Linked DNA regions of Homo sapiens: region 1 is linked to region 2. Evidence: promoter capture Hi-C in 16 types of primary human blood cells and fetal thymus (Javierre and others, 2016). All regions are on one chromosome and are shown on one strand. The core of a region is centred on a gene start or on the middle of the fragment in contact, and the rest is flanking DNA. Distances in the headings are between cores, read along the strand shown.

Evidence for each region. Contacts are between HindIII fragments. The CHiCAGO score rates a contact against its expected background, and 5 or more counts as called.
Region 1: a contact is called between a fragment that was not itself captured here and the fragment with the promoter of BRINP3 in region 2, in 1 of 17 cell types (M1 macrophages). The highest score is 5.8, in M1 macrophages.

Annotation. Positions count from the first base shown.
Region 1 is chr1:192,341,153-192,348,092 of GRCh38, forward strand. It overlaps RGS21 (regulator of G protein signaling 21), which reads left to right. Exons shown (of 5, transcript NM_001039152.3): 2 at 1,825-1,895; 3 at 6,161-6,237. The coding sequence starts at 1,885. LOC124904473 (a long non-coding RNA gene) reads right to left here. Exons shown (of 2, transcript XR_007066775.1): 2 at 2,207-2,498. Among named protein-coding and RNA genes, the nearest start is that of RGS21, 28 kb to the left of the region's middle. The HindIII fragment of the contact is 1,731 bases long and covers 2,991-4,721 here.
Region 2 is chr1:190,475,028-190,481,912 of GRCh38, forward strand. BRINP3 (BMP/retinoic acid inducible neural specific 3) reads right to left here and starts at 2,837. Exons shown (of 8, transcript NM_199051.3): 1 at 2,421-2,837. It overlaps BRINP3-DT (BRINP3 divergent transcript), which reads left to right and starts at 3,233. Exons shown (of 3, transcript NR_110716.1): 1 at 3,233-3,465; 2 at 4,055-4,113; 3 at 5,318-6,367. The HindIII fragment of the contact is 5,146 bases long and covers 1-3,978 here.

The DNA of each region.
Region 1 (6,940 bases), core at 2,606-5,105, 1.9 Mb after region 2:
ATCTTGTTTTCATCCTGAAATATCCTACTACTAGACGTTAACCCTCCTTTCTCCCCTCTTAAAAGGTCCCTTATAATTACACCCCATCCCCCAGGATAATCTAGGATAATCAGCTTCTCTTTTGTCACATAAAGTAATATATTTACATGTTCCAGGCATTAGGACACAGACATCTTTTCAGGGAGGGTTGTATACTTAGCTTATTACACTGTGCATAAGTTCTGATAATGGAGCCTAAACCCACTGGACCAAAAGCTGACGGTATTTAGATGTCCCAACAGTATCTATATGGCAATCCTTTGTCAAGATACATTGAATGCTATAAAGCATCATTCAGCCTAATAAGAAAGCTTATTTCCTCACCTGCTCATTGTATTATGAGGCTTCATTTTGATAAATAAAATCCAATTATTAGTTTTTTCTAAACAATGAAGATTGAAAGGAATGGAAAGTGCACATTAAACAATAATTGTGGTTTGTGGAAGGATTTATGAGAAAAAGCATGCTTGCAATTGCACTAAACTCAAAATAGAAATTTAAATTTTTGTTTTAACATTTTAATGTAAAATAAGCCTATTCCTGGCTCCTATTTCTTAAAGACTTTGCATGGTTCTTTTTTTTTTTTTTTAACCAAGAGGGTCTTTAAATTTTGACAGTGTATTTTCCAAACTGTACTATTTTCAAGCATATATTATAAAATTAATACTTCATTATCCCCCCTGAGCAAAACAAAAAGTGAAAATATGTTTAATGATTCAGTTTTTGCTTATCCTAAGAACATTACTTAATGGTGCTTGAATTAACAAAAGGGATCGTGCTGATTGATGATTTCCCTTCTTAATGATACACCGACTTTTTAGGTCATTTCTTCTACTTCTCTCAGTTTCATTAGTCCAGGGCCACTGATACTAACCATTTCTATAGATCAACTAGGGCATTTCCACGGTAAGTCAAGGAGAAGAACATTTTTTACCTTCTTTTGACTGCTTTCTTTCTCCCACCTGAAAAATTGTCAATCTTTCAAGAGTTTTTAATTGACATTGAGGGTCATAAACACATACCAGTTGAATTTTACTACCAAAGAACTGTATTACATTGAGATAAAAGCTTGACAAAGCATGAAGTTATAAAACTTTAACTATAATTAAAATTGCCAATATATGGTCTTTGTTTTGATAAATATATTAGCCTTATTACATTAAACATCATATTGCATAAAGAAATATTGGCATAAAATGACTTGAGATCCATGGTTAAAAGAGAGAAATGTATGTTATTAAGCAATAAAAACTGCATAAATTTCAAAGAAAACTGCAATGTCTTATATTAGAACATTTTAGTTCATGAATAAAATTGCTTAAATAGTTAAACATATATAGTTGTTTAAGATAAGTATACTAAAGGTAGAGCCCTCCTCAGATTCTCTGAAAATCAAAGAACAAAGGAAAACAAAATGATCTCTTAGGCAGATTAAAGACTTAAAGGTGAATATTAATTATAAATATGTATATTTATAATATGTATATCATTATATATTGGTTTAACCTCCTGTGAACAATAGTTGTCTTGCAAACAGATGAATATGAACTTCAGAAAAAACTTTCAGATGGAATTTATTTCAATTATGCCACAGACTCAGAGAAATGTCACATTTATTCAAAGAGTTATTTATTACTTAGAAGTTTAAGTGTTTTGACCAATGAAAAGTTAATAACAAAAATAAAAAAGCTGAGAATAGCAGAATTTAAAGAATGCCAATTTGTAACCCAGGGGATAGGTATTCGCATACTAATTGTAATGTTCCTGCTGTCACATTACCTTCAGCTTGAAGATCAGTCAGAAAGAGAAACTCGGCATCATCTGTGACAGACAGTGGAACGAAAAATGCCAGTGAAGTGAGTTGCCGTTTCCAGCTATTTTTATCTCAGAAGATGTACAAATGAAACACTTGAGTCTTCTTTTAGTCTCGATGTTTTATTTCCTTCATTTATGATAAATACGCTAATTGTTGTCTTCCTGATTTTTTCTCCTTTCTCTACTGATTTCTTCTTTTTGAAAACATGTCAAGAATTTGTGGCTTACTTTTGCACTTTATTCTTCATGTGGGCTAAAGAAAGGTTATAAAGTGGAGATAGACCACTGAACTTTATGTTTTTTTTAAATTATGAGATGAATTAGAGACATAACATATACATGATTCTTGCAAAAATTATCACAACGTTTATTGAAAAAATTTTACATGGATATTAAATGCTGGGTAAGGAAGCAGCTGTCACTTCCTGGAGCACATGGACTCCTTGCTTGAGTTTTCCATTCTCCAGCACACTGCTAATTGAGTGTGAACAGCTAAGTTGTTGGATTCCACATTTTTTAATGCAATACAACTGGTTCTAGCTGGCATAATTAGCAAGATAACTGGTTGCTTTCACGCAGTTCCCATCTGGCCTGGCTCTTCTCTGGACATATAATATGGGTACTGCTGGCCTTGATGGCACTTGCTTAATGAAGAAAATAGAAAGGAAATCAGCCAAAACCGCATGAAATACTAAGTGTAATTTTGGCTTCAGATACACAGTGACTTTTCATGGCAAATCATACACAAACAAAAACTTACTCTGATTATGCATCACAATTTTACAGGAAATAAACACAGAAATGAAAAGAGCCAGACAAAACTGCTGTTAAAATTCAATAAAAGGAAGAAAAAAAGAAATGAGGGAGTGGCCATTGTCCATTTTTTCAGATAGCACATATCAAGTAAAAGTCAACCAAGTCAGTAGAGTTTAAAATCAACCATCCTCTTTTTTCTCCAACTTTTATTCAATAGATTTCTTTCTTAACATTTATATAGTTACATTTTTTAAAAACAGAAGATGATATTTCTTACTCCCATCTACCATAAGAAATGCCCTATTTTTATTTGATAGTGTACAAGCTTTAAGAATTCATGAATAATATTGTTCATGAATTCTTAAATTCTGTTTCGTGTAAGCTTTCAGTTGAGCAGCCAGTTACCACAATTTTAACTATTATTTAGAGGAATTATAGTATTTCTATGAAATATGATAAATCTCTATTGCAGGAAAAAAACACTTTTTAGGTAGTTATTATAAATGTTCCAAAACATGAATAAAGTACAAATATATATGTATTAACTCATCCATTTAAGAAGTATGAAATAACTTGGGTTAAAGCAGACAAACTTGTGTTTCAATTCTAACTCTGGCCATTACTGTCTGTGGAATATTGCACTACTTATTTGTATCTCTGACCCTCTTTACTCTTTGGTAATATTGGAATAAAACAGACTGTTATTTTCAAGATTAAATGAAGTCTATGATATGCGTAGCACAATGTGGTATGCATTGTAAACATCCAATACATAGTTGTGCATTTTAGTGCTATTATAAATATTGTATTTCAGTTTATTCATAGATACCATCAATTTGCTCTTTCACAGAATTACAAGAAACTCCAAAATTTACAAATTTAACTGGCAACAAACAAGCATTACTCCTTAAAATAGTTACACTTCACCTAATTTCTGAAAAGTAAATGCTATGTTACCTCCAACTCTTTCAACATCTCAGATAGTCAAAATTTAACCTTCTGGATAAGAAATAGGCTATAAAGGAATGAGCTGAGGGTATTCCAGGCATTGCTACACACCAGCAGAGGTACTCCTTCAGAGCCGATGGGCAATTTTTTTCTCCTAAAAACAATGTCAGCATTTTGTGGACCTTGATTAATACTAGGATATACCCATATAACTAATTCTATTATCCATAGTATTCCATGTCTTTATCTATAAAATATCTGTAACATTTTAGCATCCCTCTGTAATTCAAAACATTAGGAATTTTTCTTTTATCCTTGGTTCTACACCATCTCCCACACTTTGCTTTCTTTCTCTTACTGTTTCTCTACATTAATGAAGATGATACAAATAGCTATTATTTATGTAAACACCTTCATTCTATAAATACTCCTTTATATCCAAAAAGATTTCAAGAAATATGCCTTTTTGCTTTTGGATTAAGTAAAACCTGTCTGTCCTTAAAGGACACTGCCTTCTAGAATGGATGTCAGCTATTCTCTCCAACCTCACATACCTCAGAGTTGAGAATGAGGTCCATGATGATTCAGTGACGTTTTCACATTATTTTTCATCTTCTCTTTCCCAGAACACTCTATGCCTTTGAAGCTAATACAATTTAGCTACACTTTTCAATACTTTTTATCACTGTAATTTATCAGCATCTTGAAGGCCATTTACCCTCTTCCATTGAAGGCTTTAATATGTGTCAATATTTGGGGTTTGGTCATCCATTATTTATTTGTTAATATGTTCAATATTTCATAGACCAGGCACACTGTTCTTGGTGCTAGAAAATAACATTTAGTCCTGTCATCAGATGACTTACATACTAATGGGAATATAAATGTTCATCTTTGAATGAATTTGTCTAGATTTTATTTTTCAGTTTTTCCTGGCTGCCTGTTCCTCATTCAAAATGGGCATTCTGCATGGCCAGGTTCCTCTCTATCCTATTCATTAGCATATGTTCCACAGGTCTAAGTAGCTTTAATTTGAATACCCTGCTAGCAGCCAAATTTTAGTATACAAACAGGAATATTTTTAAGCATGTGTATTTTAAATGATCGTATAACTTTAGAATTCCTACAAGTTCTAATATTTGAGTTATATGAAATATAACATAAGCTTATTTGAGTAACAGGTTATAGAGTACACAAAATATCTTCAATGTAAAATTAAATCTAGCATTGTGTCTCAACCTCCATTTATGAAAGACAGAAACTGAACAACTCAATTTTTGTGTCTATTTGAATGAAAAAAAACACCATTTCCAAATGGTTTCACAGGTAATCTGTGTCCCCAAGATTTAGTAAGTCAAGGAAGAAAGGAAAGTCAGCTGCCTACAACAGGAGAAGGAAATTTTAGATTGGAAATGTGAGTAATGGAAAATAGTAAAATGAATTCTTAGCTACAGTGTCCTCTCTATGTGTCCTTAATGAGGATGACCATTATTAACTGAAGATGCAACTACAACTGCATCAGTAGAGGAAGTACAATCAATCCTAGCAAAAACTATAAAAACTGCAGCAAATTACAGGAAGTAATACAAAAGCATAGGAATCACTTCACACTAGTATGTTTAAGATTAGTTATCTTGCCGTGCAAATACAAAAGTTTTATAAGAATTGCGATATATGAGTTTTTCTCTATTTTATTATTGGTAATTTCAATACAAACTTTAAATTGGACCCTCTCTTTCCATAACTAAGTCATTTGCACATCACAGCTACATAATCCAACGTGGTTTTATTTCTGGGCAGCAGATGCTTTCTATGAATAGGGGCTTATTTCATCAGGATCTTTGTTTATTAAGAGGAGTAATGTATGATATATTTGCATCTCAGAAAGTTTATATCTTAAACCTGATTTATGATTTCTACATCACATCCCCAAAAGTAACCTTCTTCAGAAGACTTAAGTCTATAAATTTTTGACTGCTTTGGAAAAGATATTACTCTGTCTTGACAGATTCCTAGATTTAAATAAATCAGCTCAGAACTAGAAGTATACCAGTCTAAAGAGAAATAAAGGCTGCCTCAGAGTAGGTAAAGACGTTTTGAAATATTACGAACAAAATGTTTTCAAGTTCATCACATGCTAGAAATTCTTAAAACTTTTTTGAACTCTTTTGAGATGCATAATTATGACATAATCTTTACACTATAAAAATTTAGAAAATAGTTTATTCATCACCATTGCTATCATAACTTTTTGGCTAGAGTAATGTCACATAAATTAACAAATAATATACTCATAGTTGAAAAGAAATTCACCATTGATCCACAGAACCGATATCTTTTATGCCTTTATTAGAATTTAAGAAGCCTCAAATATTCTTAAGACTGTCAGCTAGATTAATAAATAATTTGCTGATGTCAAATTACATCCCACTTTATGTCACTATAGCTAACTACTGTAAATAGCATTGTATAATTTTTTGACATTTGGCTGTTTGATTAACAGCATGAAGTTCATTTGAATGATGTAACTCAAAATACATGTAACTCGAATATTACTATTGGTTAAAGAAGAAAAAGATCACAATGCTATTGTCAAGGTTAGATGCTGTTTCTACAGGTCACCAACTGCGGAAACAATGACATGGTCTGAAAATATGGACACGCTTTTAGCCAACCAAGGTAAGATTTAACTAATAATAGGCTTAAAATACAATAATTAAATATAAATTATTAAATTCTGAAAGTTGGTAACATATCATAAAGTATGAGTTTAATCAATGAAGTATAAAATTATTAATAATCATAAATTCATAAAAATCCAAAATCTAAATAGAATCAGGTTGGGGCTAAAATAAGTTTATAGGTTAACTCTGTACATTAAAACAAAAGGGAAATTCAATCTAGCAAGTGAAATTTTCCATTGCCTTAGACTCACTTTAACATTTTTTATTATTTTTTATTTTAATACAGAGTCTCACTCTCTCTCTCTATCAGGCTGGAGTGCAGTGGCATGATCTCAGCTCACTGCAAACTCCACCTTCTGGGTTCAAGCAATTTTCCTGACTCAGCCTCCTGAGTAGCTGAGATTACAGACATGCACCACCATACCCGGCTAATTTTTGTATTTTTAGTAGAGACAGGGTTTCACCATGTTGGCCAGGCTGGTATCAAACTCCTGACCTCAGGTGATCCACCCACCTCAGCATCCCAAAGTGCTGGGATTCAATTCAGGTGTGAGCCACTGTGCCAGCCCTAGGCTCGCTGTGTGTGTGTGTGTGTGTATACACACATACACATACATATATATATGTATTTTTTTTTTTTTTGAGACGGAGTCTTGCTTTACCACCCAGACTGGAGTGTAGAGTGTAGTGGTGTGATC
Region 2 (6,885 bases), core at 1,587-4,086:
TTCAACCTTATATTCCAAGCTCTAGCTTCAAGTTGAAATCTAACTCTCTTCCGCTCTCCCCACCGCCCTCCAGATTCTTGGGAGTTGGTGAAGGAAAGGAAGGAGTGACCGTCAGCAATAATACTTTAACACAGAGCCTAAGAAGTCATTCAACAGTTCTAAACCCTACTTCGCAGTCAGACAAGGACAGTGATTAGGGTTTTATAAAGCAGGCATTCTGAGGAATCGTCGTTTACTAACGTTAAATATAGCTCATTAAAATAAATAAATATTAACGCAAAAAGGTACTAAGAGACTCCAGAGATCTTAAGTCTATTCTCTCATACAGAAGAGGTTTGCTCAAGTTTGGCTTAGGAAGGTTGGAAATGGAGCATTCTGGAAGGATGGAAACCCCCTGGCGCACCCCACTCTATGGGGCTGCAAATGCCCACACCAAGCACACGTTCGCTGCAGGGGCTGAGTGCAGAGCCTGAGCTAGCAGGTCAGAGTAGGGGACACCTTTCCTACACGCATGGGTTATTCCCACATCAACACCAAGCCTGGGGCCAGCTGGTCAACCAGGCACCTTGCTCTCCTCCGTTCCCTGAGCTCAGGTGGCATAGGCGTTGCCGTGAGCTGCGGAGAAATCTCCACGCAGAGTCGCCTGTTGATAACCCTCCAGTTAAAACGTTCTTGGCAGCGGGAGCCCCTCAGATGTAAATTTCCCTTTCACACGCTTGAGCTTCAGGTATAATACAGCAAAACGCACTTACCTAAATACTGACTGTCTGTTCCTTACTGGATCTGACTGTACTGAAAGTTTTTTTTTTCTTTTTCTTTTTTTTTTCCTCCCTCCACCCTTGCGCAACAACAGCAGTCCTCCAAAGAGAATGTTTGAATTGAATTATATGAAGCCCTCCTTTCTTCAAATGAAGTCACGGACTCTGATGGCACTGGCTTGTCAGGCAGGACGACCGGACTGGGAAAGAGACCAGGTAGAAACTAGTGACCTAGTGACGGGTGAGGGGCGCCAAGTGGTGCGGACCACAGTCTCAACCCCCGTTCCCTCTCGGTGGGAGTCAAGGGGGAAAAGCCCTTGAATCCCGAGACGGGGGGATGGGGCGACGCTGCAGCTGGAGTACTTTTATGTCTGGGAGCTAAAAGGGCTTTTGAATTTAAAAAAACATTGCTTGGGTTGTCGCGTCAGCCATCAATGACGACAAGAATAGTTATTTCCCAGAAATTAAAAAAAAAAAAAAGGAAAAGAAAAGCGTGAACAATAGGTTCTTACCTCCATGTATCCCAAGAAAAGGAAATGTTGTAGAGACCAGGAACTTGTCCTTAATTTGAGGGCGGGGGGCGGATGTTCAGAGAAAACCCTCAGTGGGTGTTAAAAATTACCGATACATGCAGGTTTGGCATTTAATGAATATCGTGCTTTCCTCATTATGTGTCAATTGTGAAGTAAAAGTAAAGATTAAAATGTTTCTCAACACAACTATACGGAAGAGGAGGTGATAATCTTGTCAGTTAAGTCCATAGAAATGTTCATAAAAGCAAAAGGCACTGACCATATTAACATGCCTATTAAACACAAGGGTTGGGGGCAGACAAGTATGAAGAGTGAGGCAATTAAATTTTTCATGTAAAGTCTATTCTTGAATTTCAATTTATCAGAACCAAGATAATCAGGGGTTTCTTCTGATTGCTCCTCTCTGAAATGAGTACTCTGTGTCCAATTAACTGTTCACCAGCTAATTCACAAAATCAGAAATGTACTGACAAATACTATGCCTGAATTAAAATACAATGCCTAAAATAACGTGCTTATGTGTGATTTGAAATATTTTAAGAAAAAAAAATGGTGCCCTCAAAACTCACAGTCCTCTTCCTACCATTCAGTGGCATTTTAGTGCTTAAGGTCTTGCTAAATTCATAAAAATACACTTTGCAACAAAGTCTTCCTTCAGTCATGTAATTGCTTATCATGAACAAATGCTGACCTGAACAACCTTCTGAATATCCGACTAGCGAACTTTCCAGACCTTGCAATTGTCAGAAGGTCTCTTTTAAGCTCTCTCTTAGATAAACCTATAAAATGTGACATTTCAAATGGCACAGGAATGTGTGCCAAGAAGGGTTAATGGGGGTGGGGGCGATTAATGTCCGTGTAACCCATAATATAAATGAGGACAAATATTTTAAAAATAAAGAAGGTAAAAGATATTGGGGTAATACATGGGATATTGGGGTAATACATTACATGGGTTATGTCTTAGCAGTGCAGTTGCCACTAACATACTAATTAATAAATATGGCCATATGGATCTTTCAGTTCTGAAAGTAACAAAAATGTGAAAAATGAAATACTTCAACAAAACAGAGCTTATTAAAAATAGCAATAGTTAAGTTTCTAGTAACAGATAAAGAGAATAACTTACCAGAGGAAATTTCAGGAAGCAAGAAGACTGTGAGAAAAATACATCCAGGATTCAAATAGATATTCCATGATCTTCCAAATCAAGGTAAAGTAGTGAGCTGCAGGGTAGTAGGACTTTAAAATAATCAGCAGTTCCTGGTGGCATGTAACCAAGTAAAAACCAGTTACACAGAGAGCCACGAACCCCCAAGGCAAGAAAGCAGAATGTGAAAATGCTTTATATGGGGGGGTGGGGAATGGTGGGGGGTGATTCGTGGTGATCCTTAAGCAAAGTGAAAATTTACAGGCTGCACATCCCCATACAGTGGGGAAAGGCAGAAGCTGTGTAACCCCAGAGAACAGGAGGTGGAATACAGATAAATCTGCAAAGAGAAGTAAAAGGATGTGTTGAAGACAACGAGATAAAGAGAGAACTAGTGAGCAAGGCTGTAGTCATCCTGATAGATATAGCAGCAAGAATGATTTAGGCTGCTGGGGAGGATCCAATGAGAATTCAAGAGGGCACCACTTCGGAAATCCTGCTCTGATCTTCCCACTCTCAGTTCTTTAAGAGTTACCTGCGTTGGGACCATTATCATTAGGATTAATAGTATTCCATCAGTGCATTTCACTAGTATTTCCCTTGAACATTTTCACTTGCAGCAACTGAGGGAGGCGTAGTAAGGAAGCCCAACACAACCAATTCCCCCACTCCCCAAATAAACCACTACGACCGGTCACATTACGATGACCAAATCATCAGCGATTTGCACGAGGCGGTGGGGGGTGGGGGGTGCGGGCGGTGATCGAAGGGCTGAAGATGCGGAGGAGGCCGAGTCGCTAGGCGCTTTCGGGGGCGCTGTGCCGGTGAGGCTTAGGCAAGGGGACGGGGAACCGTGGTTAGATGCAGCAGCGGCGGCAGCAGCCCTCCCAGGTCCCACTTCTTTGGCGTTCCTGCTGCCTGTGACTCAAGACAATTGACTTCCACCTGAACCCTCAGCTCCGAACGCCTTGCATTAGAAGCTAGAGCTTTGGAGGTTCTGAGGACGGTCCCTGGGGAGCAAGTGGTAGGTTTCGAGGCGCCCGCTTCCCCTCTGATTCCTGCAGTAACTGAGAGAGAGTGTGCCAGAAATGGCTTTGCTGCCGAATGCATTATCTTGCCATTTTCGTGTCCCAATACTGAACAAACGATCGCCTGATCGATCGGTAAGATTAGCTTTATTCCTTCTCCCTATTCCTCTCCTTGGCCCCATTCCCTCTGCAAGTCCAAACCCCAGTCTCTCTCTCTCTCTCTCTCTCCCTCCCTCTCTCTCTCTCTCTCTCTCTCTCCAGGAACTTCTTCCTCTTTGAAACCGGTTTCCCAAGGGAACTGCCTGTGTGACTGAGAGGCTAGTAATCTGTTTGTAGATGATTTATATTTTGGCTGCAGAATGAATCCCCCTCCCTACTCGGAGTACTCTCCTTAGAGATGATCCCCCGCCCCCTCCCCATGGGTTCGCTCTCAGAGCTGGGATCTGTATAAAGAGCGCTGTGGGAGTCTTTTGCCCTCCGCTCTAGCTCTATCTTCCTCCGGACCCCGAAGCTTAAGAATTATCCGCCTCACTCTCTTTTTTAGAAATAGGAGGGAAAGGTAGAGTGGAAATTGATTTCTTGCAGAGACTGAGGCGCTGAATGATAGAGGGAATAAACATTTGCCCTGGATAAAAATGTTCTTGGTAAGTAATCTTATTTTCTGCGGTTGAAAAAGAAACAGATTGCTTCTCACTGCCCCATCCCCCACTCCATTCATTTATTTGCTCTCTGTATGTAAATCACGAGCTGGGTCAGTGGAAATTTTTTTTTCCTCTTCCCTAGGAGAGTAGTAGCTTGTAAGGGTGAAATTGAAGTAGAGGGTTTTAAGGAGACAATATGAACGCTTTAAGGTCCTTTATATCCTGCATTAAAAACTCAAAGACAGATAAAGCAGTTAAATCCCTGTTTGTTTCCAAAAGTGGTATTTAAGTATTTCCCTTATTTCCTACTAACTGTCTTTCCTTTCTGAAAATAAAGAAAAGAGTTTTAGGTAGTGGGCTCATGTCTATGCTTTTAGTATGTCTTGGCCATGTTCTGAAATACAATTTCAGTTCCAAAATTAAGAATGGTTATTTTTCACATTTCGCAGGTATATTAAAGCTATAGAAACCACTTATTAAATGTGCATCTCGGTTCCAATTATTGCACCAGATACAAATTAGTAGTATCCACAATGGCATATTGTGGTGGTACTACAAATTCATAAAGCCCTCTGGTTTTCCATGAGTCTCTAGCACCCCCAGCCTGTGCACGCTCACAATGTGAAGAGTGGATTGGTGTAGCAGTAGGGAAGAAGCCAAACGGCTCTTGATTGTGCTTACATCATATGTCATTAAGTGTAGAGAATAACATGTTTTGCAAATTGTGTGAACTTGGTTTTCAAGAGTAAGCTGACCATTTTTGATGCACAAAATTAAGGGAGATTTGCTCTCAGAAAAATCATTGCATTTTTAATTATAAAATATATTTTACTGGTAAAACATTTAAATTAAACTTTCTTGTCTATTGTTATTATCCTACTGCAATTTATTATCCTCTAAATTTAATGACAAAGAATAAGCTAATTGGCACAAAATGCATTCCTGATGAAAACAGGATGACTGAAAAATCATCTGAAATGTATAATACTAAAATGTTATTGGTAAGATAAACTTCATTTTAGAAAATCAGTATTCTAGAAATCAGTAGTATAAAATTTCAGAAGAGAGGTAGTCAAGTGGCATATTGCAAGACAAAATATGTTTGTTCTCAACTATCTATATAGTCTTTATAGCCATCAACATTTGCAAGAGAAAAAAAATTCACTAAGGGCATGTTGGTATAACACTTTTTTCTTTCTCTCCTCAGGCTGTTGTCCAGCTCTAATGATGTCCTAGAGCAGAAGTGTTTCTTCTGATGTCTCATTTTAACAAGAGGATGATGTCTGTGTATGTCTCTGTGTTTTAGAGAGGCTGGCAAATGCTGCTAAGAGGATCTGAGGTTCACATAAAGAGGATGAAAATTCTGAATTACTTTCATTGCAAATAAACCTTAACAATTGTGAGAGTTAGAGAGCATACTTTTCACATAAGACTTTGGTATGCTGCCTAAAGCTACTTACATAATTTGCTATTCAGAGAAATGCATTTGTTTATTGAGGACCCACCCGGACTTAAATTGGAAAAATGTAACATTCAGATTTTTATTTTATATGTGAAATAAATGTGTGATTGCTGTTCTTAAAAATTTGAAAAAAAAAGGATAACAAGAATATTAATTTTGTGACCCATAGTTCATGAACTTTAAAAGTGTTTACAGCATTTAAAGTTTATTTAACAATTTAAGTATTTGAGCACTATACTAATTCATATGGTTACATTTGATCAACTCCTTCATGAAGCCATAGGCTTTATATCTCCTAGCTGCCTTTTACCTTCAGAACAAATCTGGTTTATACTTAGATTGCTCCAAAAGTTATGCATTTTAATTTTATGTTGAAAATGTCTTTCTTAGATAATCACGGTGCATATTTGCAGCTAATACTTTAGTATATTTTATATTATTGGTAATGCTTTTGTTAGCCATCCTGGTGCTGCCTTCTTATAAGAGCTATGTATGAGAACCAACTAATATATTTCTTTTTTTTTTTTTTCTTTTTCTTACCTATTAACCCACTAAAATTTCTAATCTAAAAGCAATATTCAAGTTACATTTTATTACAGAAATTGGAAAGCAATTTGCCTGGGAAGCAAAATGTTGATATGATTCAGGTGATTTTAACATTAAATCTAACTTGTAACAAAAACGGATTATATAAAGATAAATAAATTGAGACTATTATTTGCATAGCAAAGAAAGTCAAACATGACCCACACATTTATGCACATATAATTAATTTCAATAAAATGTTTATATTTATTCATTTTCATCTCTGCTATGTTTGCTTTTAGAGTTTTCTCTTTGAAAGAGTCTAAAGTTTTAAAAATACCTGTGTATGCAGGAATCTTCACATTTTATTTTGTAAGATCAATAATGCTGCTAAATAAACTGGGGCTAATGTGTTCAAGTCTCATAAAAAGTGTGTTGGAACTTGAATGGACATTAAGGAACATTTAATCTTATCACTCATGATGATGAAGAAGTTAAGAACCAGAGAGGTTAAATGATTAGTGTAATCATACACTAACTAATAACCTAAGGAACTTTAAATGCAGGTTTATTAACTTCTTAGCTAGTGTTCATTCTATATTAGTTACATTCTATTACTAAGACAGGCATTGTTTGAGAGGGGGCCTAGGAAATAAGTGAAAGGAAGAGAAAGTAGTACAAAGATGAATAAATAGTAGCCAGTCTTTTTAGAGTCCATTTTGTTGATAACTAATACTCTTTATTGTAGAAAACTTTTATTCCCCTGCTTTATTTTATCCTCCACTCCG